Regions from separate parts of the Homo sapiens genome. Here all the other regions are linked to region 1. Evidence: promoter capture Hi-C in 16 types of primary human blood cells and fetal thymus (Javierre and others, 2016). All regions are on one chromosome and are shown on one strand. The core of a region is centred on a gene start or on the middle of the fragment in contact, and the rest is flanking DNA. Distances in the headings are between cores, read along the strand shown.

Region 1 (4,425 bases), core at 1-2,500:
AGCTGCTGGGAGAGGTTGAGCTGGGGATCCCTTAAGATCAGGAGTTTGAGGCCAGACTGGGAAATATAGCGAGACTCCATCTCTAAAAAAAAAAAAATTATGTAAATTTGATTACCTATATATGGGTGTTTTTCCTCTAATAATTTCAATTTCAGATAATCTGTTACTTTAGAAAGCATAATTTTGTGAACAGCTGAGAGTCCCAGTACAGGAAAGCCCAAATCCTTTTGTTAAAACTATTCTAAAGCTTTTTTTCCTCTCGGGCTTCTAGTTCACTGGCTGTCAGCCTTTTGCGAGGCCTCTCCTGTTCCTCTCATCGATGGTAGTTTTTGACCCTCACTACTGTGTGGCCGTTTTGCTTTTTATCTACACATAAAACAGCATTTATCGACAGCAGTCTACATCTCTTTCAGGGAAATAACAAAAGTGGCTTTATCTTTTACTTTCAAAACTGGTTAGTGGTTTTCTTTGCAGGTTTCCCTGGGGCCTTTGGACTGGATTCCATTTTATTTTCCTTTTTATCAACACGAGAATCCGTCCTGGTCTTACATCCTGGAGGGCTTTTGGCTGCCTTAATTTACAGCCAAATTAGTTTGGCCTTTTCTATAGCTGGTTTACCAACCTTCTCATCTTTGCAAAGCTTCTGGGTCAGATGTGGGTCTGGGCCCCAGGACTCCTGTGTCGGCCTGACCTTTCACATAATCACTGCAGAGTTTTTCATCTATTTTTACATCACGGGGGCAGGGGAGTGGAAGCTACTTCCAGCAACAGCTCTCGGTTAATAACCAGTTTCTGCAAGTAGCAGCAGCAGCAGCAGCGTAGGGTCACGGTTAGGAATTTGGGCTTGGGCATCCAAGACTTGGCCCCAACTTCCAGTGAATTACTTCATTTCTCAGCTTCTCGGTTTCTTCAGGCCTAAAATGAGGACAAAAATACCTACCTTTCACGGAGGTGGATGTGGAGACTAACAAGGCGATAAATGTTAAAGGTATTCGAGAGAGAGAAGCCCGTGATAATGAATGACTACGATTTTTAAGCCCACAGCCAGGTTATTCCCAGAAGTTGGCCCTCCGCACCAGACCCCAGCAGCCCGCAGCCCGCCTCGGGCGAAAGGCCTCCCGGGCTCCTGCGGCGCAGCCGCGCTGACGACTTGTCGAGTAGCTCGCCGCCCTGGAGGAGCTGGGGGCTCGCGCAGGCGTCAGAGCCGGGCAGCGCGCGCCGCAAGACTAGCGCGCAAGCGCCGCGGCCTCAGGCGAACGAACGGGCGGTGTAGTGCAGGTCCGCCATGGCTGAGGCGTCACGGTGGCACCGAGGCGGTGAGGGGTCCTCTTAAGGAGTGGGAGGGACAGGGGCGATTTGGCAGTTCCAGACACCCTGAAAGGAACTCTGCGGCCCCAAATTCGTTTGAGAGATGTGACTGCCGACACCTTTAGCCCTCACAGCCTCCCCTGGGGAAGCGGAGAGGGACAGATGGTCCCATTGCACAGACGGGAAAACTGAAGCCCTGAGCGAGGTGGCGCTCGCCTCTTGCCGGAGGCTCGAGCTGGGCGTTGTCACCTGTCGAGTGACCGTCGCTAGGCCGGTCTCTAAAGTCCTTGGTTGATCTGGGGAGTCGTGACCTTGACAGAATTCAAGCCGAGGTGTTTTTCCCCTGTCCAGCAGAAACCAGCCTTCCCAAGAAGCTGTATTGAGGGTGGAGAAAACGGTTAGGACAGATGAGAGGTTTTACTTGTTTCGTATTTTGCTTTTTCATCTTAAGACTGGCGAGAAGACATCATGATATAAAATCTGTTAGTGGCCGGGCGCAGTGGCTCAAGCCTGTAATCCCAACACTTTGGGAGGCCGAGGCGGGCGGATCACAAGGTCAAGAGATCGAGACCATCCTGGCCAACATGGTGAAACCCCATCTCTACTAAAAATACGAAAATTAGCTGGGTGTGGTGGCGCGCGCCTGTAGTCCCAGCTACTCGGGAGGCTGAGGCAGGAGAATCGCTTGAACCGGGGAGGCGGAGGCTGCAGTGAGACGAGATCGCGTCACTGAACTCCAGCCTGGCGACAGAGCTAGACTCCGTCTCAAAAAAAAAATCTGTTATTAATAGTATATAGTAAAAAAATTATCCCTGCCTCGTAAAACTAAGAATTGAAAAATAGCCAGAAGCTATTGGAGCTTTCCTCCCCGCAGTGTAAGGACTAAAAGTGGCTGTGGTTTTTCCATTGTTGTCACTTATAAATTACATAATAATGTAAAGAAAAATTTTGTCTTATATCTCACAGGGGCTTCGAAACATAAGTTGCATTACAGAAAGGAAGTAGAAATTACAACCACACTTCAGGAATTGTTACTCTACTTTATTTTTTTAATAAACCTATGTATATGTAAGTACACAGATATAAAGATGCTGTTTGTTTGAACTAAGAAGTTAAAATGTGGAGATGAAAAATAAAACATACAAACTTCAAAACCACAGGCTGTCAGGCTACTAAAACTCAAAATACAGTGACACGTTTAAACATAATCTTAAATTCATTTAGATTCATTTCATTTAGAAATTGACTATTTTCAGTTCTTAAGGGGCAAAATTTTACATCGCAAATGTAAGAAGCTTCCATAGTCAATACTGACTGAATTAGAATTATTCCTTTCATTTGGCAGTTCTGTCTTGAGCATAATTCATCCCTTGGGTTGGCAACTGCAATTTGATTTTGTTTAGAGTCATATAGACACATCAGCTGAGTTTCATAAATCAAAGTACAAATGAGGCCAAAGTTCATCTTGGTGTCTGCCATTAGCTTGGTTCTTTTCACTGACCTATTGCAGTTAAAAAAATAGTTTGTGCTGAGTCAATGCAAATAATTAAGGAGGACTGGGAAAACATCTCAACCTGCATTCCTCCTACCTGTGGGTCAATAGCATTGGCTTAATATGCAAAGAGGAGTATTAAAGAGCATTTGTCGATGGCACCCAACATAACAGTAGATGAAAGCTCACTGGCAGTATTGTCTCATGTTGGTATGTGCTACACACTGGCAATTGTATAGCAATTAAGTAATTAATTGGTGTTGTAGGGGTGAGTTTGAGTCTGCTCTTGATTGAAAAGACAACTATAAAATTAGCCAGGTGTGGTGGCACACCCCTGTAGTCCTAGCTACTGAGAAGGCTGAGGTGGAGGATTGCTTGAGCACAGGAGGTCGAGGCTGCAGTGAACTGTGATTGCAACGACTGCACTTCAGCCTGGGTGACAGGCTGAGACCCTGTCCCAAGGAAAAAAAAAAAAAAGATAACTGTAGGCAACTTTATAAATTAAGATATCTTAGACTGCTTTATAAAAGCTTGGTTATGAAAACTACATGCTTACTACAGAACATTTGGAAAATGTAAAAATGTAAGTAAAAAGATCATTTATAATCCCATTATTCAGAGATTTTTAAAGAACACTTTTTTTAATATAATACAGCAACCTGAATCTCCATTTATAATGTGATTTTTTTTCTTTTTTTTTTCTTTTTTGAGACAGTCTCGCTCTGTCACCCAGGCTGGAGTACAGTGGCTCACTGCAACCTCCACCTCCTGAGTTCAAGCGATTCTCCTGCCTCAGCCTCCGGAGTAGCTGGGATTACAGGCCTGTGCCACCACGCCCGGCTAATTTTGTATGTTTTTAGTAGAGACAGGGTTTTCACCATGTTGGTCAGTCTGGTCTCGAACTCCTGATCTCAGGTGATCCACCCACCTCAGCCTCCCAAAGTTCTGGGATTATGGGTGCAACACCACGCCCCGCCACTAGTTAATATTTTTAAAAACTCATCATGTGCCAAAACACAGTTTAAAATGTTCTGTGTGCATCATCTCACTTCTCACAACAAAACTAGGGGGTAAGAGATACTATCCCTGTGATGGGACTCACACCCTTATCTGTCTGAATTCAAAGTCCATGTAACCTTAACCACTCACCATACTATATTGCCTTACTCTCATGTAGAGAAAAAGTCAACTTGCAGAATAGTGTGTATAATGTGTCCTCATTTTTGTAAAGATAAAATTATTTTCTTTATAAATGTGTATGCATAAAGAAATGTCTGAAGAATATTTGCCAGACTAATTCTAGAAACCACATCCTACTTTTTATATTTCTAGTTTAGATTTTTTAAATTATTACTTTTATAATTAGATTAATAAAGTTTAATTTTCAAAATTGAGAAAAAAATGTAACATTTTTAATCCTGATAAGCTGAGTTTTTAAATGTAAATTATTAAACAAAAAATTATTCTCCTTAGTGACTTTTGGGATGGTAAACCCACATATGTATTACTTAAACAAGGTTATGTCATCTCTATTTTTGGACACTTCTGTGCCTGGTGAAGAAAGAACCAACTTTAAGTCCATTCGCAGCATAACTGATTTTTGGAAGGTAAAGTATCTTGTGACT
Region 2 (4,425 bases), core at 853-3,352, 250 kb before region 1:
GATGCTTGAGGAAACAAGGAGTAGCTCACGACTTCTGGCACGGAGTGGGGACCAGCAGGGGAAAAACAGCTTGCAGAACTGGGAGGCTGCTCACCTGCTCTGCATCTTCTGGAAGGAAGCTCAGCAATCTGATCCCACCGGTCCTCCTCGAAATCATAGCACTCCACACTGCGGATTGCCTTGGGTGCCTGGCCGCCAACCACAATCATGACCTCCGGAGAGACAAGTGGACGTTAGCGGGGTCACCCCAAAATCTGGATTTATGGTATCCCTGGTACTTCCACATGGCTTATCGCCCAGGGTGTGTGGATGATCTGAGATGCCAGTTTACAGAGCTACATACATGGGGATGCTGCTCCTGGTCACCAACAGGTATGAGTATTCAAGAAAAGTCTAACAAGCATCTTCCCACAGAAACACAGTCATAAGTTCTGTTTCCCAAATGCCCCACTCGGGGCTATCTTGTGGGTATGTGAAGCCGCACAGGGCATCATCTGTAATCTCAGTGCCCTCAGATTGGGAATGGGGGGTGCTAAATCTTATATCAAAACAAACTTGAATATACTTTGAAAAAGAGTTCAGAATTTGGACGTATGTTTTAAAGTATTACTCAAAAGCATTTCTGAATGCCTAGAATGTAGGGTGCACTTATGCACTGCAGTATAGAAAAAAATTGAAAAACTCCTGTGAGATGTTTATTACAAAAGTTATTAAACTGATGATGTTCTGGAAACTAGTGCTAGCAGTCCTATTTCCACAAGTAAGGTAGTAGCTACCACTGCTAGGTACCATGTGAAATGTGTTGTCATTTACTTGTCACCACAACTGTGAGGTAGATATCATCATCCACATTGACAGATAGCAAAGTAAAGCTCAGAGAACACATGTAAGTGGCCCAAGGTCACACAGCTAAGAGTGTAGGCAGAGACTGAAACCCAAGTCTACCTGACAGAGGGTGAGGCCAGCCACCCCCCCCAACTCCTGCTCTAGAGACAGGATCCAAGCAAACACAGCTTGCTGCATCTATGTTTGTCAAAACACAGGTCGCTTTCCATTAGTAGGTCATGAAATCAATTTAATGGATTATGACCAGCACATATATTTTTAAAAGCACAGAAAATATGATAAGAATATTATTTCATGAAATATTGGTTTTGGCTATACACACTTACATGTGTCTTCTGGATAGCAATTTAAATGCATTTTGTATTGCAAGGGCATGGTCAAACACAATGAAAACTACTGCTCTGGTTAGGTTAATAGAACTGCAGTACTTAATTATGGTATCACTGCTGTGTCTTTGGTCACATGTTATTAATAAATAAAAAATTAAAGTACCAGTTACCTATAGTTTACATATTTTAATAAACATGTACAAATTCATAGCTGTCCCCACAATGATGTCACTCTCACTCAACGGCATTCCAATATGCTTTCTTGAGTGGAGAGAAAGGGTGGAAGTCACAACCAGCAAATTCATTTGATCATTACCTGTAGCTTGTCTTATTTACCCAGTGGTTCTCAAACTTGAGCATACATCAGAATCACCTAGAGGACTTGTGAAAACACAAGCTGCTGGGCCCTATCCCCAGAGTGTGATTCAGTGGATCTGGAGTGGAGCCCAGAGGCTGCCTTTCTAACAAGTTCCCAGGTGCTGCTGCTGCTGCCACTCTAGGGTTCATACTTTGAGAACCACCTTTTTAATCCATGCTCTGTATGGATTTCCTGATGATATGCCATGAACAACTTTTGCCATTATGAATTATCATAGTGCTTTTTACTTCCCCATGATGTATTTTTGGGGAGAGAAGTGCCCATCAAAATCTGTGTGAACTCGCAAAGGCACATCCCTCAAGTGAACACTTCCCACCATACGGGAGGCAAAACCAGAGCTCACCACCATTACTACAGATCAACCATTTATTCCCCAATATTCCAGAACAGGCTCACCCACTGCCATGTGGGTGGTCACTGGTCATCAGACTTAGTCCATAGCTGTCTGTCACCAAAAGTGGGTAACCAGTGTTCAAAAATTCAGAAATCAGTTCTGACTTCTAAAGCATTCCAAAGGAACCCAGGACACAAAACCCAGCCTCGAGCTGCTGCTGCTGCTGCTTCCAGACAGAAACTTGACTTTCCTGGGTGCCTCAGCTCAGAGGGTCCACTGCTCTGTGTCAAGAGTAGCCTTTTTCAGAGTAAACATGAATTCTACATTACTTCCCATTTGTAATTCTTTGCTTAGACAGGCATCCATGAACAGTTCAAGGGGGATGTTAATGAACACAGCCCCTTGGCAAACACCAGATAATGCCTAACCTACTCTTCAAGGGCAGAATGACATGTTCGTAAATATGCCCAGAACTTGCATTGTCTTTCCGGTTTTGAGTTGGTAAAGCTAAACTGAAGGAAAATACTGCAAGGATTTTCTTTGAAATCTGATTTCTGAAGCTGAGTGAGAATAAAAGCAGTTTTAAGTTTTCTTTCTGCAAGGACTTCAGGCACCCCACACCCTCCCACATGCTGTTCCCTGACTCGAAACCTTCCCATCTCTGAGCACTCTGCCTTAACACCTGCTTATCTTTCAGGTCTCAGTTTAAATGTTATTTCCTACAAATGGACTTCCCTGGCCTCCAGGTCAGAACTACATATCCGTCCTCTGAGATTTCACCTGCCCTGTGTGTTCTGCATTGTGCTGGACCATCAGTGTCTTGTCTTTTGCACCTCTAGACAGTGAGCCCTGCCCAGGCAGAAAACGTATCTGCCTCAGTCACCAAGATAACTCCATATACTTATGTTGCCAGGTAAAAGTGAGGGCTCAAGTGTTTATTTGGAATAAAGAATACATGAATAAAAAGTAAATAGCACATGCAAGGAGTTAAACAAACAATACAGAGTTTTTAAAAATGAAAAAAGAAACTAAACTAGAACGTCATTTTCTTTAGTTAAAATATGTTGGAACACCAGGTTAAAATTCTGGAGACAGTGAGGAAAAAGCAAGCAAAATAAAAAGAGAAAGTGAGAGCTTTTCCCATCTTTTGACTCAACCACCAAAAGAAAGTTTGCTTATACTTGGCATAAGCTATCCAGCTTCTTTTGTAAATTAAAAAAAAAAAAAGGCAAAGTTTTCAGGAACCCTCACCATGCCCCAGAAACTATCTCCCACCAGGGAAGTAGAGGGTACATGCATATTGGAGAAAATCTACCACTCATCTCTGAGAATTTTCACAGAAACAGTATTACAGAAATGCAAATTTTTTAATGTTAAAGTAAAGCCTGAGTAGAAATACAAAAATGATACACGACAGCTAGGTGCAGTGGCTCATGCCTGTAATCCCAGTACTTTAGGTGGCAGAGGCGGGTGGATCTCTTGAGTCCAGGAGCTCAAGACCAGCCTGGGCAACATGGTGAAACCCCGTCTCTACAAAAAATACAAAAAACTAGCTGGGTGTGGTGGTGAATGCCTGTAGTCCCAGCTACTTGGAAGGCTGAGGTGGCAGAATCACCTGAGCCCAGGAATTTGAGGCTGCAGTGAGTTGTGATTGCAGCACCACTGCACTCCAGTCTGGGCAACAGAGTGAGACCCTGTCTCAAAAAAAAAAAAAAAAATAGAATACAAGATAAGGTTTTCAAAACAAACTTGGCTTTGAGCTCATAAAACCACTGGTAAGAGATAACTTTAAACAAACAAAACTTGTACAACTATCTGGGAAAATGAATTATGAGGTTTTGTGGGATAGGACCATCAGTTTCAGAGGTAGCTCAAGGCAGCAGGAAGAGCAGGTATACATCTGCTTCTCTCATAGGCATAGGAAACTCAATTTTTTTGTTTTATTTTTAGTTGGCACATAATAGGTACACATATTTATGGGGTACAGTGTGATGTTTGGATACATGCATACATTGGGTGATGATCAAATCAGGGTAATCAGCATACCCACCATCTCAAACACTTATTATTTCTTTGTGGTGAGAACATTCAAAATCCTCTCTTCTAGCTATTTTGAAATATACAATACATTATTGTTAACTATAGTCACCCTACTGTGTAATAGAACTCCAGAAGGTATTCCTCCTCTCTAACTGTAACACAGTATCCATTGATCACCCCCATCTCCCCTCCCTCCTCCCTTCCCCAGCCTCTGATAACCACTATTCAGCTCTCTACTTCTACGAGTTTGTCTGTTTTAGATTTCATATATAAGTGAAATCATGTGGTGTTTGTCTTTCTATGCCTGGGTTATTTCATTTAACATAATGTTCTCCAGGTTCATCCACGTTGTCACAAATGACAGGATTTCACCTTTTTATTTATTTAATTTTTTAGACAGAGTCTCGCTCTGTCACCAAGGCTGAAGTGCAATGGCACAATCTTGGTTCACTGCAACCTCCACCCCCCGGGTTCAAGCAATTCTCCTGCCTCAGCCT
Region 3 (4,425 bases), core at 661-3,160, 230 kb before region 1:
CCAAACAAAACAAAAGGCATCAACCTGCAGTAAGACCAATGTCCAGCCAGACCAAGGCCTTGCCTTGCGGCTGTGCCTTCTTCTAACCTGCACTAGGCAACGTGAGGCCAACAGGCAAGTATGCACTCTCAGGTTTACAAAGGTGAAGCCAGGTGCAGGATGGTATGAGTTCAGAGAACAGGTTTGGAGAGTGATAAAGACTCAGTTCAAATGCTGGTTCTACCACATTAGCTGTGTTGACCTTGGGCAAGTAAATTAACTTCTCTGAAACTCAGTTTCCTCCTTTATAAAACTAGGATAACTATCTCTACCTTGTAGTGTTGTTGAAAAGATTAAGTAAGATATTCAAGTGATAACCTCAGCACTCAATAAAGGTTAGCTGCTTGTATTATTATCTGGGACACTGAGACATTTGTTCACATTGCAACCAATATATTCCCCATGATCCAAGGTCAAGGAGCAGAGGGGAAAGAAGGTCCTGCAAACCTCAGAGAATTCCAACACCTGGTCTTGGAAAACAACATGCCTCTAGCCACTGTGAAACCTTCCTGGAAGAAGCAGGCAGGGAGGATGGCAGCCAGCTGGAAAGAGGAGGAGGAGGACAAAGCAAGGGCCTAAATAATTTCCTGGTGCTGCCTACTGTGTCATCAATGAGACAACACGACCCACTCCTCTCCTCCCACCTTTCCTCCTGGGTTGACTGATTCCTTCCCCCAGACATCAGCATGTTAGACTCCTAAAACGACTACTTTGGTGCCACACCAGACAGGACTTTAGGGATCGAGTGGAGCATCCCTCATTCTATAGATAAGGAGCCTGAGGGTCAGAGAGGAAAGAAGACTCGCAGGGAACCAAAGCAGCCAGCACACACCATAAACTCTAGGTCTCTAGATCATGGGGTCCCCTCCTGTGTCTTCCTTCCCTTTCCCTGGCTGCTCCCTCACAAATTCTCATTTCTCCCATTTCCTTCCTCTGCTTCGTGACCTGTCAAACTCCTCAATTTGACAGGGTCCCTTTTCTTAGAACCCCTTTTCTTCTCTGGGGCAGCCCTAATTGTCCTTTATGTCCTTCCCTGAGTGGGGAAAAGAAACAGACTAGGACTATTCTGACTCAAAGAATGGCCTAGAAAGAGGACTACTATGGCCATCACTAAGTGAAACCAACATAGCCATTCCTCTGCTTCCAACAGAAATAGAGCACAAGCCATGGTGTGAAATGAGAAGTCAGGGTGGGGGTGAGAGGGAGCTCTGAGTTATTCTCAAACCTCCCTGATGACATTGGAGGTTACCTTGAAACTCTTAGGAAAGGAAGACCCCAGAAGAGAGAGGTACCAGCAGATTCAAGAGGAACCAGCAGACTCCATCTCCTAGGTTGTAAATGCAACCAAGATGCAGGGCAGCCATGGGTGAGGAAAGACTTGGAGGCAGGAGTGGAAGGCCACTTTCCCAGGGCACAGTCCTGACTCTTGGTGGTGATTGGGCTGGGGCTTACCTTGGGAAGGCTGACTGGAGTCCTGGGCTTGGTCCTTGGGTTCTTAATCAATAGTCTCTGATCCAGAGGGAGGAGATGGTATTTCATGGCCTCAATGAGGAAGTCTTTACAGGTGTTGTTATTCTTTATCAAAGCTTCTTCTTCAACCGTCTAGAGGTAATAATCCACAGATGATCCTGGAGCACAGCTCAGCCACATTTCCCAAGCTTTCACCCTGGGCTCAGTCATTCCTGCACTCCCACACTCATTCATTCCTTCACCACATCATCTCAGACCCAAAGAGTTACAACTTACTGCTCACCTCCTGCATTTTAAGAGCACAGTGGGATAAGGGATCAAGCTCTGGCATTAGACCAGATCCACTACTTAACGTCTCTGATCCTCAGTTTCCTCATCTGTAAAATGGGCATATTAAAGGTATCTACAACCTCACTAGTTTTGTTTGTTTTGAGGCTTAAATGAGTTTATGCAAAACAAAAGACAAGTAGCCATCCTGAAAGCCTCTAACCACATTTCTCCTGATTTGAATGCATTATAATGCTTAGGGCAAACAGACATCTGAGAGGAGGAGTGAGGGGAAAGAGGAAAGGGTGTGGGAGCCATCAGCCAACCTTTGGAGGCATTGAGTAAAATAAGCTTGTCAAGGAGAAAGATTCATATTCGTTGTCTTATAGTGAAGGTCTCAGGGCAGAAAATCGGCCAGTGAGGCTCCTTCTAACAGAGTAACAACATCAGAGCAGAAAAATTACCCTGCACAAAGTCCCACCTATTGACCTCACCTAGGACTCCATCTAAGCTGGGGCTCTGGCTTCTTTATCTCTTATTCCAGAGCTTAGGACCTAAGCAGGTGCTCAGCACATGTAAGCCTAAAGGTTTCATGAGCAAGACCAAGCATGAAGCCATTCTGGTGCTCTAACTCTCCAATCCCCACCTTTTGGCCCAGGTCAGATCACTGTGTGGCATATCTGGAATGGGTAATGTGGTCTTCTGGGGCTGCTTTGTGTTAGGAAAGATCAATTCCATTCAACAGCTAACACTGATTGAATGTCTCCTGGTTGGGCAGCCCTGTGCTGGTCCCCAGGAAGAAAATGATGAACAAGACAAAATTTCTGACCCTGAAGAATTCAAGTCCAGTCAGAGAATGAGAAGGGCCTCCCACCTCAATTATCTCAGCCCTCAAGTCAGTGATGCACAAGGCATGACTGAGCCTCTCCTGGGTCCCCATCTGTCACTAGGAATGAAAGCATGGCCAGGGCCATCATCTGCTGGGCAGCATTGGAGCTGGCAGGGAAAAAAGGATTGGCAAGAGAAGGCCTCTGTGTACCTCTGACCACCTCCCTCCCCAGAGACAGTCCCCAAGAACTGTTTTCCTTGGAAGGTTTTTTTTTCCCCTCCCAGTAAGGAACTGAGCCAGCTTGAGACAAATCATAAACTTCTAGGGTCAATTACAAAATAAAAAGGGTGGGAGAGGATGCCTGAAAAAGCTTGGAAGGAAGGAGAAATGCATGAGCAGCTATTTCTCCAGAAGAACTTACTCAGCTTGAATTAAAAGTTCTCCTGGAAAGTTAGTGCTTCATGGGTACAAGAGTTTCAACTTTGGGGGTGATGACAAAGTTTTGGAAATCTTTATAGTAATGGTTGTACTGAATTTGAATGTAATGAATGCCTCTAAATTGTACACTTAAAATGGTTAAAATAACAAAGTTTATGTAATAAACATTTTATCACAACATATTATACATTTAGTACAATATTTTTAAATGCTGAGTAAAAGCCTAATAAATGCTACCTTTTGTGAAAGAAAAAAAAACCTCCCCCAGAAGTCAGGCAGTGTTGGTGGAGGTCTGCCCAGGGCTTTCCCTTCCTTCTCCTCCTCCTCCTCCACCACCATCAGCCATCCCAGCAATTATACTCATTTGAAGTTTCAAAGTCAAATGAATGTAATGAAACATCCTATTCCAGAGGTGTTCACTCTGAGAGGCCTGATAAAAGGCCTTTCTGCAAAAAGGGCAAAGGGAGGAGTCCCACACAACAGTTCTCATGCCCATTGCCTCTGACCCCCTTCTTTTCCAGATCTAAATTCTGCTTTGGCATAATAACCCAGGAGCCATTTCCTAATGGTGACGTTTGTTAAGCTTCAGTTGTGGATGCCTGATGAAGTTTGTGACCAACGGTCTCTAAGGCCACTTTAGCTTTCTCTGGAACCCAGGTCCCCAGGTTGCCAACCCTCCCTGTGGAAGCGAGACTATACTGGAGTCCAGGTGCCTCCTCCACCTCCAGCCAGCTTCCCACAGGACAGTGGGAGGTTTGACTGACACTGGATGCTCAGGCAAGTTCACTTCCTCCGCTTAGGGGACCTTTTCTACAGGAAAGATATGCTGCCACCAGGTGGCAGTGGTATCACCCAAAGTAGCATGCATGCCCCATTTAAGAGCTTGCAAGCATATCCCTCAGCACCTGAGAAGGCTGAAGTACGGCGATTCAGGGAACATTTCACTGACCCCTCATATCTGCAATCTACAAGTGTTACCAGCAGACGAGTTTACAAGTGCTCGTGAGGATACTGTGTCACCTGCTACTAAGAATCACAGCAGTGGTCACAAAGACTACAGAGTAAGATCAGTAACATTCACTGAACACTGTATTATAGGCCTACATGGATTATCTCATTTTATTGTTTATCCCCAAACAATCCTATAAAGGCAAGTGCCATTTTTTCCCGGTAAGAAAACTGAGGTTTAAAAAGGTTAAGCATGTACCCAGTATTATATGGCTGGAAAGTAACAAGAGCTGGGCTGCTGGGCTGCTAGGCTGCTAAACCTCCTCTTTATCCTTGCATCATATCTTCCCTTCCTTCCAGAGACTCCTTGGAGACAGCTGAGGGCTAACCTGCTGTCTCGATGTTTTGTTTTGTTCATATATTTTAAGGTTTAT
Region 4 (4,425 bases), core at 1,073-3,572, 220 kb after region 1:
ATAACGTAAGTATTAATAAGAGTGCCAGGCCAGGCGTGGTGGCTCACACCTGTAATCCCAGCACTTTCGGAGGCTGAGGCAGGCAGATCACCTGAGGTCAGGAGTTCGAGACCAGCCTGACCTACATGATGAAACCCCATTTCTACTAAAAATACAAAATTAGCCGGGCGTGGTGGCGTATGCCTGTAATCCCACCTACTTGGGAGGCTGAGGCAGGAGAATGGCGTGAACCCAGAAGGCGGAGATTGTGGTGAGCCGAGATCACCCCATTGCACTCCAGCCTGGGCAACAAGAGAAAAACTCCAACTCAAAAAAAAAAAAAAAGTGCCTAGTACAGTGCTTGGCATATAATGAATAACAGCAAATAGTAATCTTTCCATTAATGATGGGAACATAATCCATATATAAATAAGCTAAGTAAAAATACTAAAGGGAAATAATAACAGCTAATGTTGACTGAATGTTTCCTCTTTGCCAGTAGGAACTGTTATATACTTTTACATATATTATCACATTTAGTACTCACAACAGCTCTGTGAGATGGGAACTACCATTATCCCCATTTTATAGATGAAGAAACTGAGACTCAGCAAGATTAAGCAAACTTCCCCATTGTCACAGAGCTAGGAAGTCATGGAGTCATGATAAAAACTGCTTTGTTGGGAGACTGAACGAACCTATTCTTGTTTGGGAGGTTACCAGATAATTCACTTTAAAAATACATAAATGTTTGTAAAAACTGCTTTGCTGTCTCCAAAGGCCAAATGTTAAACTACTTCATAATGTACTGTCCAGCACATTATGTCAAGGAAATATATTAACTACAAGCCAAGTCAGAATTTAAGTATGAGTAGTTCACAGGCATAAGAGATAAGCATGTATTAGAGCAAAATTACAGGAAATTATCTTATAGGCTTGAAATTGTATAAACAGAAAGAGGAGGGTCGTCCAGTGTTTGTGATGTTGGGGAGCAAGGGCAAAGGAAGAGAATGGCTTTAGCAAATGTAGACGGGAATGAGCAAGGGAGCAAACAGACCACTCTAGCTAGAGCAGAGTCCATAAAGGCAGGTACGGGGGAGATTAGTTTAGAAAAATAAGCATTAGAAAGATAAGCACTGGCCAGTCTGTGGGAGCCCTGAATATCAGACTAACATAAATATAATTTTTTTAACCATATCAGCTACACACTAGATACTCAATAAGTAATTGTTGATTGTCACAAAGTAGAGAGAATTAATTTCAAACCTAGTTACTCAACGGACATAGGATGTAGGATCTGTTTTCAGTATCAGTACAGGAAGTGTCCATTCAACTTGAGTCCCATGGCCAACTGGAACAGCAACAAATCGCGTTAGTACACTGTTGGTTTTTTTTGTTTTGTTTTGTTTTTTTGAGATGGAGTCTGGCTCTGTCTCCCAGGCTGGAGTGCAGTGGCGCGATCTCGGCTCACTGCAAGCTCCGCCTCCTGGGTTCACGCCATTCTCCTGCCTCAGCCTCCCGAGTAGCTGGGACTACAGGTGTCCGCCATGACGCCCGGCTAATTTTTTTGCATTTTTTTTTATTTGTTTTTTTTTTTTTTTTTTTTTTTTTTTTTTTTTTTTTTTTTTTTGAGACGGAGTCTTGCCCTTTCACCCAGGCTGGAGTGCAGTGGTGCAATCTCTGCTCACTGCAAGCTCTGCCTCCCGGTTTCACGCCATTCTCCTGCCTCAGCCTCCCGAGTAGCTGGGACTACAGGCGTCCGCCACCACGCCCAGCTAATTTTTTGTATTTTTAGTAGAGACAGGGTTTCACCCTGTTAGCCAGGATGGTCTCGATCTCCTGACCTCGTGATCCACCCACCGCGGCCTCCTGAAGTGCTGGGATTACAGGCGTGAGCCACCGCGCCCGGCCAGTATACTGTTTTAAATCCCTCCACTTGGCCGCATGCAATGGCTCACGCCTGTAATCCCAGCACTTTGGGAGGCTGAGGTGGGCGGATCACCTAAGGTCAGGAGTTCAAGACCAGCCTGGCCAATATAGTGAAACCCCATCTCCACTAAAAATACAAAAATTAGCCGGGTGTGGTGGCAGGTGCCTGTAATCCCAGCTACTCGGGAGGCTGAGGCAGGAGAATTGCTTGAACCCCAGGGACAGAGGTTGCAGTGAGCTGAGATTGTGCCATTGCACTCCAGTCTGGGCGACAAAGCAAGACTCCGTCCCCCCGGCCCACAAAAAAAAAATTCCTCTACTTTGTGACATGCTTCATCATTTCAAAATCTTTATAGCAGTTATGTGGAGGTCAGAAGCATTCTAAATATAAAGGGAAATGATCAAGATAAGGGCAGGAAAAAAGATGAAGAGGCTTTAAAAAGAATAGAGCTATAAAGAGGAAGAAGAGAAAAGTACTACATGAAGAGAAAAAGGGAGGGAATCCAGTGAAAAGGCCAGCTCAGATGGCTTAGGAGAACTTAAAGCCAGGCCTTAGAGCCAGGTAGCTACCGAAGAATTGAAGGAGGAGGGCACGGGGGCACCCAGAATCTACAGGAAGCTAAACAAAGTCTGACTTCCTACACACAATAGTGTGTTCGGGTTGGCACCTTCCATTTTAGCAACAGAGAGATATAATAATATGATTTCACCAAGGGGACAATACCCTAATAATATTACATTTTAATTTAATTTAGGATACATATTTGTTTCTCACCACAAAGATGACAACAGTTTCAAATATTACATTTTCTTAAATCATCCCTGAGAAGCATGAAGGAATTGATAATGGTTTGCCATTTACATGTTGAACCTGTATCTATAAAAGTTGCAAACAGGCTAAGTTAAACTAGAACTTAAATTAGATATAGTACTTTATTTTAATTGAGCTTTGAAAGACTGAAGGCTTAAAGTCTAAACATTTTCATCTGAGATGTTTAGTCCATATCCAGTCATCAGATGGTTAGGAGTTTGGCATGACTAATTCTTCACAGTCCATTTGCTAAATGACACATTATAAAAGCAAGCACCACTGAAAAGGATGTGCTTATCTCTAAAGCTCCAACCTCATTGCAGACTGACTGCTTTATATTGGTCCTTGTCTAACCATTTTATGGTACAAGAAGACTCTAACCACATATATATGTTAAAGACTCCTTGAAATGTTCTCACAGTGGCAAGGACCAGAAACACTAAAGTTCAGAGAGGCTGTCCTTCTGGCCCCAACATAAAGGCCGCCCAGAAGGATCAGGATTTTATAATCCTGATTAAGATGTGTTATCCTCCCCCTCAAGATGGAGATGCTTATTCTTATAAAATAGCTTAACCCTCTCCATCCCACAATTAGATAACTTGTATTGAGAAGTAACCAGCTCCTAGCAGAACAGTTGAGAATGCTAATTAAGTAAGCTCAGTAAGGCTGCTTTAAAATGAAAAATCCTGAAAATTGAGAGAGATCCAAACTTTGCAAAGAGTTTAAAAGGAAGACCCAGAAATTGTGCTTCAGGTTGACACACTGTTGGTAGTTTGCATTTTTCAAAGGCTTTGTCTATTTCATCTAATTTGTTCGATTTATTGGCATAAAGTTGTTCATAATATTCCCCAATTGTCCTTTTAGTATTTGTAAGGTCTGTAGTGATTTGACAACTATTCGGCTGAATAAGCACAATTGGCTTGAGAAAGAATAAGGTGTGGGGGGCAGTAATTTGAGCCTGCTTTGATAGATCTTATGAAGCATAACTTTTCAAGGAGCATTCTCCCCACCTTGGCCAAAAAAATGCAGATGAGGTTAGTGGAGGTGGGGAATGGAATTTTTTTATGGGTCTAGTGATTGGGCTGTTGGTCTGATTAGCTGCCCATTTGTCTGCAAGTTGCTTTCTCCTCCCATTCTGTGCTCCCTGCCATCACCCTGCAGCTGCTGCCCAGGACGCCTGAGGAAGGGATTCCCTCTGGAGCTGATGGCAGTGGTGCTTTGGAAAGTGCCGGCAGGGGGTAGGCAATAAAAACAATTTGGTCTGGGAACAAAAGGCATCAGTCACAGCAGTGTCATCAACTCTTGATTTGGATGGGGAGAGAGAAATTTCTTGGATCACCCTGGAAGCAGGAAAGGAAGAGGTATCATTTTATTTAGTCATCTCCACTTTCTCCTATGTACTAGAGGCTCTAATTAAATTAATGAGAAAGCTAATGCAAGACTGCTTCACAAAGATTTTTTTCTTTAGTCATGTCCTTTGGTGAGGTGGAAGAAAGCTATATAAAATTGCCAGAAATCATTGGACTCTATCTTTAGAAATAACTTCTCTGTTAAGTAAATTTCTCTCGTAAGCCTGGGAGTTTCTGAGATTTAATTAACTTTTGGAACATAATTATGGATCTCAAATGAAAGGTGTAAAGATAATATAGAGAATGTTACTAGTAAAGGGACTAACAAAAACAACCCAAGAAAAGCAATTGAAGTCA
Region 5 (4,425 bases), core at 845-3,344, 200 kb before region 1:
TCACCCTGCTTTATTACATGAATCTTTCTATTCTATTCGGACTGGGAGCCCCATGAGGTCAGGGATCAAGTCTGTGTTATTTGAAGCTGAATCCTCAGTCTCCAGCATAATATCTGTATATACCGAGCTCTAAAATTATTACTGCACTTTCCTGACTGTTCTTCAAGACTGCCTAGGGTTCAGGCAACCTCTCAAGCTAGCCCCAGGACTATTCTTCTCTCTTCACGGAATGAAATAAACCTAAACCTTTGATCTGGTTCATCTAACCTACAAGCTCAGAACAAATGGAATGATGACCCATCTGTGACTTCCTTGACTTTGCGGGGATTGAGAGACATAATATATGTAAAATGCTTAGAATGGTGTTAGCTAGTATTAGGAAATGGCCTCAACTTTCTCTGAGACCCAACTGTACCCCCAGAGAAAGCCCTTGCCTGGGAATGTATCACCCAAATTTTATCATCCTTTTAACATTGGGAAGATATGTTTGTGTTGCTTGGTGGGAAAAGACTGAAAGTTATATGGTGCCTCTTCCTCTTCTCCATAATTTCCCATCCACATGGACGGGAACATACTCATTGTGTTTTACCAATCAGAGATGAAATAAACCCCATAAGCCCCATAATTCCCAGGGCCAGCAGCCCCAGGGAACAGGTGTGAGTGCCTCTGAACTGAACCACAGGTCACACCCTCAGGAGACACTGGCTGACACAGGTGGACACACAAACAAAATGGAAACATTTTGGCAGGGTGAAAAAACAAAACCACAGAACTGCCTTAAAACTCTCTCTTCTGCCCCTTATTACTCTATTTTTAGAGGCCAGAGGCAAGCTTCCTTGAATCAATATTTAGCTTTCCAGGCTCACAGTTTCTCTGCTCTAGGGAAAAGGCTCAGTTCCCACAGGGAAGTAACAGAGACCCACCTTGACCTCTTCTCAGAAGGGTCATGACCACCAGCCCTCAGACTCTAAATATTACTACCTCCACACTCCCTGGGAAGGCAGGAAATAAGCTCTCTTTCCATGTTGCCTTACTCCAGAAATATTATGTGTTGTCCTCTCCCTCTCTTTCTCTCTCTCTCTCTCTCTAGCTCTCTTTCTCTCTCTCTCTCTCTCTCACACACACACATGCACGCGCACACACACACACACACATACACACAGCCAAGGGCCATAATAGTGCTATTGATTCAACAGTGAGGTTCCCCATAACCCAGAAAATGGAACAAGTGAAGTTTCCTAAAATCCTAACAAAGAGCAAGCAACGAAACCTATCTGTGTCTGCACGACTGCCTCATTTGCCAACTTCAAATTAGATGCAGAAAATCCAAGAGAGGCAGGAGTGAGGCAACCATCATAGAAAATAGGCTAGGCTGGTCTGGGTGGGTGGGAAATAAGTAGCGGGGCTTAGGACACAGACCTCTGCAGTCAGCTGGCCTCACTCTGGCACTGCCACTTATAAGCTGTTAATATATGATCTTGGACAAGTTACTAAACTTCTCTGGGGTTACAGTTTCTTCACCTATAAGCTGAGAAAATAATAACTCTTATACTTAAATGAACAAAATGAGGCCATGCCTATGAATCATGTAGCACCATTCCTGGCACCTAGCAAGTATTCAAAAATGATAGAAATGCCCATCATTATGATCATCATTATTTCATGGTGACAAGTTAGGAGCAGCAATTTTAGAAGAGGACTCTCACTGAGTCAGAGATTTATGTTTTTTAATGATTTTCCAAATTTTTCTGCTGCCTTAATTACTTCATTCCATGATCTCAAATGACTCAATCAATCAAAAAAAGGCCATTTCTCTCCATAAGCACGTGAAATCCAATGGCTTTTCCATCCCATGGCTGGAGGTTTTTGCTTAGCTTTGGCAGACTGATGTAAACAACATGTCCAAAGAATTTTAATTGCTATTTCATTAATGAAGTCCCATTAACATCCCTCCCAAACAGCTCTGCTGATGGCCCAGTGTATGGCTGTCCAATTACCAAACAACAAAGTCCCCATAACCCTAGGCCCTGGCCTCTGAGGTTAAAGATTAAGCAGTCCCTGGAAACAACAATAATGAGGTATAAGAAACAGGCTGTGAAAGACACTGGGGTCCATTTCCCAGCTACTAGTTGCCCAGGAAGACTGTGATGCCACTAGCTAAGGCAAGAGTCTGAGCAGTCAGCTTCTAAATGCGGGACCTACCCTCCCTACCCCAGAATAACATATATCATAGCAAAGATCTGGGGAACTTCCCTGAGGGGGAAACTGAATCCAGAGGAAGCAGGAGGGACTGCCACAGCAGGAAGAGACAGGGCCCTTCCAAACAGGAAACCAAATAGGCAGCTGGACATAGAGATGATGCTTCAGCCCCCACAAAGTTGTGCTCTCGCTGGAAAAGCCGAGGACCTATCAGAAGGCAAGACTGGCTTTAAAATAAAGTCACATTTGTTTAGACAGCAAGTTGGCAAAATCTATCAAACAACTTTTTAATGTACATTCTCTTTGATCCAACAACTATGCTACTAAGATTGTACCCTACAGGTATACTAGCAAGTGTACTCCAAAATATTATGTACAAGAATTCTCATGGAAGCATTTTAAATAAAAAAACTGGAAACATTAATGTCCATCAACAGAAGACTGGTTAAATAAATTATACTCCATCCATGAGATGCAGCAGACTAAAAGAATAAGATATAGCCATACACAAGGGTGTGGAAATAATTGCAAGATTTGTATTGTCAAACAAAAGTACAACGAGTACAGAGTGCTTTCTGTTGTGTAAGTTAAAAAGCATAATATATAAATTCTGTAAGGATACCAAGGATCTCCCCACTTCAGAGAGACAGGCTGGGAGAAGACTGGCTTTGCATTTTATACCTCTATGTACTGCTTGCATTTTTTGGTCATGAGTATAAATTGCTTTTATTGAATATATTACCTAAATGTTTCAAACAATGGTCTAGAAATGTATCTGCTAACATGGAAAGAAATTCAGAATATACTGCTAAGAATGTTTTTTTAAGAGATGGGGTGTCTTGTTATGTTACCCAGGCTGGATTCAAATTCCGTGGCTCAAGCTACACATGAATGCTTGAGCTATCAACCTCAACCTCCCAAGTAGCTGGGACTATAGGCACCTGCTACTGTACCTGGCTAAAATGTTTTTTAAGCTGGAAAGCATACATATACAATGAAAAAGATTTGGAAGGATATACATCAAGGTGCTGCCAGCAGTTCTCTCTGGGTAGGATTGTGGTATAATTCTTTCCACCCATGTGCTTTTTCTGTAATAGTCAGGGATGAGTTTTTATTAAAATAGCAATAATAACAACAACAACAATAACAACAGAAAAAGAAAGCTTTTTAGAGAAGGAAAAGAAACAGAATTCAGCAGCTAAACTGGAATCTACAGACAAGTGAAGGCAAAGCAAAGCTAGCCAGAAACTGGGAAGAGTAGGGGAGGCTGGACAGGACATACCTGCCTGCACTATACATCTAGATAAAGAGAAAACAAAACCAGAAGTCCTGGAAATCCTTCCTCCCCAAAAGTGCATGTGGTCTGCAGCAGCAGTGACCTGAGGATTCCTGTGTCTCCTGCCTGGACCCAACTGTGAAGCTCCCTCACTGCAGATGATGAGGCTGGCAGGGAGGCTCCACAGCACAGCGCCTGTGGTGTCTACTTCCATAGAATGCTCTCCTCCCCATTCCCCCTGTTCCCCAGATCATCCTGGAAACAGGATAGGATGCGCTACTCCCATGATAGAGAGAAGAAAATAGGCTCAGGATTACTCAGCTCCAAAGTGTTAGCTGGTCTGATTCCTAGTTCTGATCTGGAAGGTCTCCTTGTAGTTTGTTGGCATGAAATACCTTCTAACTCAAGGCCTGGGTCCAGGGAGACCTGTGACCACAGAGACCAATGCTTTCCCTTGTGTGTGACCCTAGTGGGTGCCTGCACCCCTGCACTTACAGTAGAGTGAGGTCACAGGTCTGTCTCAAGAGGCAGCAATGGTAGAGAACCCCAGGCTCCATCTAAAGTCAGGGGTACAAGGAAAAAAGCAGGCCCACGTCAGTGGGTGGGTTCAAGGGAGTAAGCATGGATAATCATTTTCTACTTCTCCTCTAAATACTGCACAATCTAACCTTCATTCCCTTCTTCTAACATCTTTGCATCATGGCCTTATCTTCTGCATTATACTACTTTAAAAATATTACCTCCCTGAGGGGCGCCTCTGCCCGGCCGCCCCTACTGGGAAGTGAGGAGCCCCTCTGCCCGGCCAGCCGCCCCGTCCGGGAGGGAGGTGGGGGGGTCAGCCCCCCGCCCGGCCAGCCGCCCCATCCGGGAGGGAGGTGGGGGGGTCAGCCCCCCGCCCGGCCAGCCGCCCCGTCCGGGAGGGAGGTGGGGGGGGTCAGCCCCCCGCCCGG
Region 6 (4,425 bases), core at 1,276-3,775, 170 kb after region 1:
GATTTTTCTGATTTATTGTTCATATTGATCATAATGTTCCCAAGAAAGAAAGATGGGGTAAATTATGTCTAAGAAACTGCCAAACTCCCTTCTTTTCTCCCCAAAACATTAAGCACCTATGTGATGGGTTGATAATAGTCTGAAGCTGGGATGGATATATGGAGTCACATTAAACTAGCCTTTCTACCTTCATATAATTAAAATTTTCCACCAGCTGGACACAGTGGCTCAAGCCTGGCCTGTAATCCCAACACTTTGGCCAGGAGAATCGCTTGAGTCCAGCAATTGAAGACCAGCCTGGGCAACATAGTGAGACCCCATCTCTAAAAAAAAAAAAAAAAATCCAATAAAAAATCACCCCAAAAAAAGTGCCAGGCACTGGGGTAGAACACAATGAGTAAAACAGTTTCTATTCTTTTGAGGAGCATAATCCATTTTGTTATCATGGTAACAGCTGACAAAGCACTTTCTCAAATGTATTAACTGATCATCCTGTAAACACATATTATGATTCCACGTTGATGTGGGAGCCTCCTACTTTTTGCTATGCCCTTTCTTCCTGGTCTTTCTTGTTTTCTGTGATAAATCTGTTCTAGGGAGGGTCAGATCCCTGTCAGTTGGGGGTGGGAGGGGTAGAGCGAGACCAGGATGGAAAGAAGACCTTTATCCTGTGGGTGGAGACCTGAATGGGGTTAGTTTCAGGATATCTCAGACAATATCATCAGAATCTTAAATGCCGTAGCCAACCTTTTAAACACTTAGAGTGAGCCTTTCACTTACAGATTCTTCCTTTGAATTCAGGGTGATTTTTTTTATTTTTAGACAGCTAAACTGGGTCACAGAAAAAGAGCTCCTTTCCCAGAATTACACAGAAAAATAGCATAAAATGTTATTCCCTTCGACTCCCAGAATCTCCTTCTGTGAAGTTCAACCATGAAAAGCAGGACTGATGCTTCCAGCTAAATTTTGTTTCAAATTGGTTTGATCATCTACTCTACAGAGCAACCCAGGCAGCCCATTCACCTCTGCAATGCTGTCTCCCTCAGCTCTCAGAGCCCACAGAATCTGTTCTGCTTCAGTTCTCTCTTAGAAGCCTCTACTAATTTTCCCCCACGTGGTTGTAAAGTCCTATTCATGTGTACAATGTCCACTTCTTCTTTATAAGTCAGACCTGAAAAACTTCAGAGAGTTCAACCATACTGAATATACCCTGTTGCTTCTTTGTTGTCTAATTCTCAAACGTGTAAAAAGAAGCATGAGTTTACGGCCAAAAATCAGGCTGGTTGTCAGAGACAAGCACTTGTCTATTATCCCCACTTCATCCACAATTACTTCATCCTCCCAGCCTCAGTTTCCCTGTTTACACACAGCCTAGAATCTGGTGCTTTCTCCCTCCTTGCCAGGAAGTTGATACAGATCTTGATGTAAAAGCAGGGCAAAAAGAGAGAGAGAAAAAAAAGCAGGGCCGAGGGCTCTCCAAGTTCTTTCAGAGACATAGTAAACAGTTGTTTGCTTGTCAAAGGACCTATATGGGCCACTACAGTGCAGACAACACAATTTCCCACAATGGAGGTAAGCAAAATAAAAGACCATGGACAGAGGAAAGATGACTGGAAGGAAGCCCCAGTTTTCCTTATCACCCCTCAAGCTTTGTAGGGGAGGTATAGAGGCAGTCAGCCTGACTCACAGCCAGCGCTACTGCTCCCCGGCCAAAGAGGGTTCAGAAGCGAAGGGCTGCTGGATTCAAAGGTCCTAGGCTGACAAACGTAATGGGATGTATTCATCCGAGGACTGGCAGGCTTTCCTTTCAGCTCCGGCTCCTCAGGGTATAAGTCAACTTCCTCTCACTCGTTCTCATTCCTGAGAACCCTGGGAGCTGACAGACGAATGGGGATAAGGGCCAGACTAGGAGATGCCCTTACAGCCCCAGGTAGAAGAACTGGTTCAAGATGCAGGACATCTGAGAAGAGGAAACAGATTTCCCCCCGTGGCTCCAAGCATTTCTGTAAGCACCACCTGTACCTGTCACGAGGAAAAAGCTCCTATTAGCCCTAAAACTAGCCCTCTCCACTTCCCAGCCTCTGAGAGAACGCCAAGTAATGAGAAGGGAAACCAATGAAACATGGGCTGAAAGCATTACCTCATCAGAGTGAACCCCCATTGGCTGCAATGACTCTGGACGAGGCTTGCACGCTAGTAAATTAACCCTTGTCAGGAACATAGACCTCCATGTGGGACCCCTTCCCTCCCCTACTGCTCCTTGTTTTCAAATTAGGAAAAGGGGTAGATGGGGAACAATAGACCTTTCCCTAACATTTTTCTTAGGCATAGGTAGCTATACAATGGTTATGAGGAAGTTTGTATCTCCTCTCCCCAAAATTGTTCAGTGCCTTTTGAACCAAAATGGAGCCACCTGCAACAGACTGATAAATATGGGTTACGTAGGAAGAGGCAGAGTGAATTATCAGTCGTTTTCTAAACCTACCTACCATGGAATTGTCAGAGGGGCAAAGACCAAAAAGAATAATAAAAATTAAAACACCTTGGGAAAGATTGGCAATAAATTGATCTTGTTTTTTGCAACTTATTTTTTAAGGTTATCCTCATAGGTACAGCCTCTATTTTTAATGCAAACTGCCAAAAGATATGCTAATTTTTTAAAAAAGGCAAATAGCAGACAAAAGTTTGAATTTATTACTTGAATTGCTTCATGAATAAAGTGTTCAATAAACCTGTCTTCCTACTATCAAAACTCTGTATTTGACAGAACCAAGACAAAAGATTGTTGTATGCTTCAAAAACTATGCGGCAGGCATGGTGGCTTACACCTGTAATCCCAACACTTTGGGAGTCCAGGACTGGAAGATCGCTTGAACTCAGGAGTTCGAGACCAGCCTGGGCAACATGGCAAAACTCTGTCTCTACAAAAAATACAAAACAATTCGCTGTGTGTGGTGGCACACACCTGTAGTCCCAGCTACCCGGGAGGCTGAGGTAGGAGGATCACCTGAGGCCAGGAAATTGAGGCTACAGTGAGCTGTGACTGCCCCACTGCACTCCAACCTGGGTGACAGAGTGAGACCCTTTCTATTAAAAAAAAAAAAAATTGCACTTGGTGACTAAAGTCAAGGGAGAGAAGACATCTAAGACTGACTTGATTCCCTCAAGTAAAAGTTATTAGCTCTGAGCTAAGAGCTAATTTGCAAACAAGGCGTGAAGATAACTGTAGTTGTGAATACTGAGAGCTGAGTATTTGAGAAAGAGGTCCTATGCCCATACTATAGGCAGAGGCTTTCTGGGAACATTATTATGTCTTTTATTCTAAATTGATTTAAACTTAAAATTGACCAAAATATTGTGGGGTGGTGGGGGTTGTGGTTTGTTGTTGGTGGTGATTTTTTAAAAGCTTAAAAGCACCGTTGTTTTTTTTTTTTTTGAAATGGAGTTTTGCTCTTGTTGATCAGGGTGGAGTGCAATGGCACAACCTCAGCTCACTGCAACCACCACTTCCTAGGTTCAATAGATTCTCCTGCCTCAGCCTCCCAAGTAGCTGGAATTACAGGCGCCCACCACCACACCCGGCTATTTTTTTGTATTTTTATAGTAGACATGGGGTTTCACCATGTTGGCCAGGCTGGTCTCAAACTCCTGACCAAAGATTTGTTTGTTTTTTTTTTTGAGATGGAGTCTCGCTCTGTCGCCCAGGCTGGAGTGCAGTGGCATGATCTCGGCTCACTGCAAGCTCTGCCTCCCAGCTTCACGCCATTCTCCTGCCTCAGCCTCCTGAGTAGCTGGGACTACAGGCGCCCACCACCATGCCCGGCTAATTTTTTTTGTATTCTTAGTAGAGACGGGGTTTCACCGTGTTAGCCAGGCTGGTCTCAATCTCCTGACCTTGTGATCCGCCCGCCTCTGCCTCCCAAAGTGCTGAGATTACAGGCGTAAGCCACCGCACCCGGCCTGTTTTGTTTTTTAGTGAAGTACAGTAAGTCCTCACTTAACATCAGTGATAGTTTCTTGGAAACTGTGACTTTAAGTGAAATGATGTATAACAAAACCAATTTTACCACAGGCTAATTGGTATAAACAAGAGTTAAGGCTGGGCACTTTGGCTCATGCCTGTAATCCCAACACTTTGGGAGGCTGAGGCTGTAAGATCACTTGAGCCCAGGAGTTGAAGACCAGCCTGGGCAACATAGTGAAACCCCAGCTCTACAAAAAATTAGCCAGGCATGATGGTGCACACCTATAGCACCAGCTACTTCAGAGGCTGAGGTGGGAGGATTGCTTGAGCCTGGGAGGTCAAGGCTGCAGTGAGCCATGATTGCGCTACTGCACTGAAGCCTGGGTGTAAGAGGAAGAACCTGTCTAAAAAAAAACAAAAAAGAGGTAAGTTCCTGTGGCATATTTCTTGTCACAAAAACA
Region 7 (4,425 bases), core at 1,047-3,546, 150 kb after region 1:
ATATCATGGTTTACAAATCGGACACTGTTCACTGGGTTGAATTGTTTTATCCGAATTAATTTCTCAGAGCCTATTTAAACTTGAGCGAAGTGAAATAAAAGTTTCCAAATCTGCCAAACAGGATCAACAGAGCCTGATTTCAGAGCAGCCCAGTGAAGATGCAGTCTGTGCATTTAGCCTTGTATCTCTCTTTAAATATCTTAAATGAAAGCTTTACCTGTGATTCCATGCTTGGAGAACAGGAGCAATATGATTGCTTCAAAAGCTTTATCATAAGTGCGTAAAAGTCTTGAGAGTAAATCCGAAGAGAGTTAAAAACCTCCTCCGCCTGCCCCACATATGCAACACAGGCTCTTGTTGACATAACTGACTGTAATAAATACTTTGCTCTGAATATGAAACCTAAGATGTAAGCTCCCAGAGGGAAGGATTCCCTTGCCTTTTTTTTTTTTTTTTTTTTTTTTTTTTTTTTGGTGAGACAAGGTCTTGCTCTGTCACTCAGGCTGGGGTCCAGTGTCTGGATTATGGCTCAATACAGCCTCAACTTCCTGGCCTCCAGCAGCATTCCTACCCTAGTCTCCTGAGTAGCTGGGACTACAGGGACATGCCACCATGCCTGGCTAATTTTAAAATTTTTTTAGAGATGGGTTTCCCTATGTTGCCCAGGCCTCTCTTGAACTCCTGGCCTCAAGTGATCCTCCCACCTCAGCCTCCCAAAGTGCTGTGATTACAGGCGTGAGCCACCGTGCCCGGCCTCCCTTGCGTTTTTATACCCTACCCACAAAGTATGGGATCTCAAAAAACAAATGAATTGATCAATGACCATTTTCCCCCTCAAAAACTGCAGAACATATTCTTGGAAGATATATTCTCTAGATCCTACTTGATAATATAAAAACAGTATGTTCAACATAGGGGCCACATGGGCTATAATTCAAAACAAACACTTTTATTTTGTATCTTTTGCCATGCCTTTCAATTTGTGCAGTGGGAGTAGATCTGTCATGTACCTAATTGAAAACTCAGGCAGGTTCCATGAGTTTTTAGGGGTTCTGTGGTCTCCTTAGGAATAGAGTCCTGTTGTCATTGAGTCACAAAGAGTGAAATGTTTTCCTCTTTTTCAGCTGGGAACAGTTGTCTCATTGCTTGCCCTAAAGAGGGGACCATAGTCATCTTTAACCTGCCTAGTCTTTCTCCTCCCGGCTTAACTAATCATAACCAAATCTGGGGAAGGCAGGGAGAAAAAGGAGCAGGAAAGTTGTTAACTTTGTATGATGGTTTGACATTCCCTGGGCATGGTAGATGCTTAAAGCTGACTTATTTTTTCATGGATACCTCAGAGACTACCACCATCCCCCTTCTCTGGTGGTTTCTCCCCCATAATTCTATTGGTCTAAGCGTAAAGCTATTTTGGCAGTTATTTACTTCTTTCCACGCACCTCCAACTACTTGTCTGTTGAAACCTGGGCATCTCTGTAAAGGCCCTGTCAGATAGGATCTGAGATGACTCTCACACTCGTCCATTTGCAAGTGACCCTTTATTGTGGGACAAGGTTGTGCACTCCGTACCCTAGGGGGTGCCATTCACATCATTCTCACTGTAGTTCTGTATGTTATTTATTTTAATGTTTTTCCAGCAGGTGGCAGTAAAGTGTTTTGTCCAAACTAAATTACAACGACTGCTTCCCAATAGATGGAAGCAAAGCGTCTGGACGAAGGAGAGCTTTTTTCTCATGGTGCTGCTGTGTTAGCCTAGTGACAGCTCTGTATGGCCCACACCTGGTCCACAGGAAGCTCTCAGGCACCTCTTGCCCGAACAAACTTGGGAGTACAGGCTAATCCCAGTGCAGATTCAACATTCCTCTACTCTGCTGCCAAAACAGCCGCCAGCCTGTGGGAGTCAGACACAGGCCCACGGTGCCCCTCAGACTGCAGGAGGTACAAGTCAAGTGCTCTGAGCAGATCCATTGAAGGCCCACTCCCTCGACTTGAAGTAAAAGGCAGGCAGGCACCTGTGGTAAGAATCACAGCTCACCAGCAACAGTCTCCAAAGACATTGTCCTCAATAATTCTGGTTTGGCCTTTTATAACTAAATAACTGAGTATTTAATCTACCTGCTTTGTCTAAATCCTCTGAAATTTCTAGAGGGGGTCTATCTCAGAAATTACTTTAGTTTTTTGGTGGATGGAGGGAAGAAGATGGTTTCTTTTATAATAATCTTGTTGCTTCAGTTAAAACAGTGGTTCTCAACTGCGACAATTTTGGGGGACCATGTGTGCAGACATTTTTGGTTTTTTTTTAAACTTTTTTTTTCCTTCTGAATTCAGGATCTGCTGAATACAGACATTTTTGATTGTCACCACTGGAGAGGTGCTATTGGCTGGTGGGAGAAGGTCAAGGATGCTGGTAAACATCCTTTACGGCACAGGACAGCCCCTACAGCAAAGAACAGCAATTCTGTTTGTTACAGAGATGAGAGAATACCTCACTAAAAGAATACTTCAAAATTACATCACTTTTTCTTCTTTTTTTCCTACAAATTCTTTACCTGTAGATGGAAACGTCACATTTCAATATATCAATAGAGTCAAAAATAGCATTTGCAATAGCTATTTGGCCAGGATGAGAAGTGACTGGTATAGACCAATCCTTTGTGTTTCCAAGACTCCTTCTGGAGATGAGGCCATGCCAGGAAAATTACTACTTGAGATAAAATTGTTATTTATTTGCAAGATGACTTTTAAGCCTGGAAAACAAGCATTCTATCCCAGCTTATCTGAACAGAGGCATTATGCCTCTCAGAAGTAAGGTCATGAGTCACATCACTGTGGAAGGAATATATCTTTGCTACAACCTGGACTGCATTCTAGATGCCAGGGAGGACCTCAGCATATCTGCCTCCCCAAGGTCACCAGTGTCACTGGAATGAGACTTGAAGTCAGGAAGTAGCTGTCTCTGCAGTTACTTTACAGATGGCTAATAATGCCCTCATTATTCACAGAGAATGCAAATGGGTTCTTCCATCCTTTACATGAGTTTGACTGAATTCATCTCTTCCAGATGTAGCAGGATGTTGAGCCCTTCCCTTGCACCATCAGTAAGGAAACTTTTAATCAGGTGTTTTCCTTACCGTTACTGATCTCCCTGAGCAAGGCTGTTTGAGTACTGGGATATAGATTAACTTGAGTTCAGTCAAGGCTGCCTTGTCTTTCTTAATACGATGTTAATAAGAAACGAGCCACCCTAGCCAGAAAAGCCAAAAAGATATATTCTATCCCCACCAATTCTATCACTTAAAAGTAAAATAGATAAAACAAACATTCCAAGTTCCAGTTCTAGCCCTGTTACTAGCCTTTTGACTCTGGTCAAGTTACTTAACTTAGTTGTACCTTAGATTCCCCATTAGTCAAATAGGGAAACAGACTTAAATGAATTGGTATGCATAAAAGTGCTTTATTAGCCATATACAATTTTTTCAGTTCCCTCTCCTATACTGCATTCAGAGGCCTAGAGAACAACCTGAAAATGTCTTGCTTTCATATCTGGATTTATTGCCAGGAATGAGGCCCAGTGTGAACACCTTTCTTGACAGAAATTGCCAAATCTTTGTCTATCTATTTGTAAATGAAAACCAAGAACCACTAAGAATTCCCCCAAACTCTCGGTGCTGGTTTTAAGATCTTCTGAGCCTTGTAAGTTACAGTAAATACAAGCACATCTCTTCCCCAATTAGAAGCATATTTACACTGCCCATTTGTAGAACAAGACATGACTGTAAATACAGATAGGAAGCCATCATTACATGCAGTCTTGTGTGCAGGGAAAAACAAGTGCATATGGAGATGAGATTGTGACTACTCTTGATTCTCACAGAGCAGTAAAATGCTATCAAATTCAGTCAAACTCAGCTAATGAATTTTCTCCTTGAGGTAGTCTCCTCTACTGGGAAGAAAGGAAGAACTAAAAACACATCAAATTTAAATCCTCTGGTAAAAGAGAAGCAACTCACCATTAGAGAGATGTATTGCTGGCTCTTCCAAGAAATGGAGTGGAAATCTTTCTGTGCCACTTTGCCCAGGACCATTGTGCCAGTGTGCAAGAATGTGTGTTTTTCATAAACAGAAAAATATCACTAGCTGCAAAGAGAAGAAACTGTTCCAGGGTGTACAAATCCCACGCCAACCTCCAAAATAATGGCAAATACTGTTCTGATCTTAGCAACCCAGAATAACCTTTGTGCCATTTATTTATTCAACACATATTTCTTGGGCAGCTATTATGGGTCAGGCACTGTGCTAGGCGATATGATCATGATCTCTGCCCTGGAAAAGCTTCATCTTACATATCTCTGGAATAAAATATTTTGGTGGAATAGAACCAAAGTTAACATAATGTGGATTTCAGCTTCTATATTCACTCATATA

The links. Contacts are between HindIII fragments. The CHiCAGO score rates a contact against its expected background, and 5 or more counts as called.
Region 2: a contact is called between a fragment that was not itself captured here and the fragment with the promoter of PKD2L2 in region 1, in 1 of 17 cell types (naive CD4 T cells). The highest score is 5.1, in naive CD4 T cells.
Region 3: a fragment that was not itself captured here is called in contact with the fragment with the promoter of PKD2L2 in region 1 in 6 of 17 cell types (naive CD4 T cells, naive CD8 T cells, total CD4 T cells and 3 more); the score reaches 7.5 in naive CD4 T cells.
Region 4: a contact is called between a fragment that was not itself captured here and the fragment with the promoter of PKD2L2 in region 1, in 1 of 17 cell types (M2 macrophages). The highest score is 5.8, in M2 macrophages.
Region 5: a contact is called between a fragment that was not itself captured here and the fragment with the promoter of PKD2L2 in region 1, in 2 of 17 cell types (M2 macrophages and naive CD8 T cells). The highest score is 5.4, in M2 macrophages.
Region 6: a contact is called between a fragment that was not itself captured here and the fragment with the promoter of PKD2L2 in region 1, in 1 of 17 cell types (naive B cells). The highest score is 5.2, in naive B cells.
Region 7: a contact is called between a fragment that was not itself captured here and the fragment with the promoter of PKD2L2 in region 1, in 4 of 17 cell types (total B cells, naive B cells, total CD8 T cells and 1 more). The highest score is 6.0, in total B cells.

Annotation. Positions count from the first base shown.
Region 1 is chr5:137,888,207-137,892,631 of GRCh38, forward strand. PKD2L2 (polycystin 2 like 2, transient receptor potential cation channel) reads left to right here and starts at 1,251. Exons shown (of 15, transcript NM_001300921.2): 1 at 1,251-1,316; 2 at 2,275-2,376; 3 at 4,274-4,407. The coding sequence starts at 1,286. PKD2L2-DT (PKD2L2 divergent transcript) reads right to left here and starts at 1,113. Exons shown (of 4, transcript XR_948815.3): 1 at 941-1,113; 2 at 1-82. The HindIII fragment of the contact is 1,963 bases long and covers 639-2,601 here.
Region 2 is chr5:137,639,766-137,644,190 of GRCh38, forward strand. It overlaps KLHL3 (kelch like family member 3), which reads right to left. Exons shown (of 15, transcript NM_017415.3): 9 at 95-212. Among named protein-coding and RNA genes, the nearest start is that of MIR874, 5.7 kb to the right of the region's middle. The HindIII fragment of the contact is 6,724 bases long and covers 1-4,425 here.
Region 3 is chr5:137,656,640-137,661,064 of GRCh38, forward strand. KLHL3 (kelch like family member 3) reads right to left here. Exons shown (of 15, transcript NM_017415.3): 8 at 1,492-1,641. Among named protein-coding and RNA genes, the nearest start is that of MIR874, 11 kb to the left of the region's middle. The HindIII fragment of the contact is 430 bases long and covers 1,696-2,125 here.
Region 4 is chr5:138,106,833-138,111,257 of GRCh38, forward strand. No RefSeq gene overlaps it. Among named protein-coding and RNA genes, the nearest start is that of WNT8A, 25 kb to the left of the region's middle. The HindIII fragment of the contact is 5,133 bases long and covers 1-4,425 here.
Region 5 is chr5:137,682,669-137,687,093 of GRCh38, forward strand. The region is part of intron 5 of KLHL3 (kelch like family member 3); the gene reads right to left. Among named protein-coding and RNA genes, the nearest start is that of MIR874, 37 kb to the left of the region's middle. RefSeq lists silencers at 1,772-2,017, 1,992-2,286. The HindIII fragment of the contact is 2,531 bases long and covers 830-3,360 here.
Region 6 is chr5:138,053,303-138,057,727 of GRCh38, forward strand. No RefSeq gene overlaps it. Among named protein-coding and RNA genes, the nearest start is that of FAM13B, 22 kb to the left of the region's middle. The HindIII fragment of the contact is 1,758 bases long and covers 1,647-3,404 here.
Region 7 is chr5:138,034,556-138,038,980 of GRCh38, forward strand. FAM13B-AS1 (FAM13B antisense RNA 1) reads left to right here. Exons shown (of 2, transcript NR_037900.2): 2 at 1,638-4,378. LOC124901077 (a long non-coding RNA gene) reads left to right here. Exons shown (of 2, transcript XR_007058952.1): 2 at 1-118. It also overlaps a transcript of FAM13B not described here. Among named protein-coding and RNA genes, the nearest start is that of FAM13B, 3.7 kb to the left of the region's middle. RefSeq lists an enhancer at 1,704-1,913. The HindIII fragment of the contact is 4,067 bases long and covers 264-4,330 here.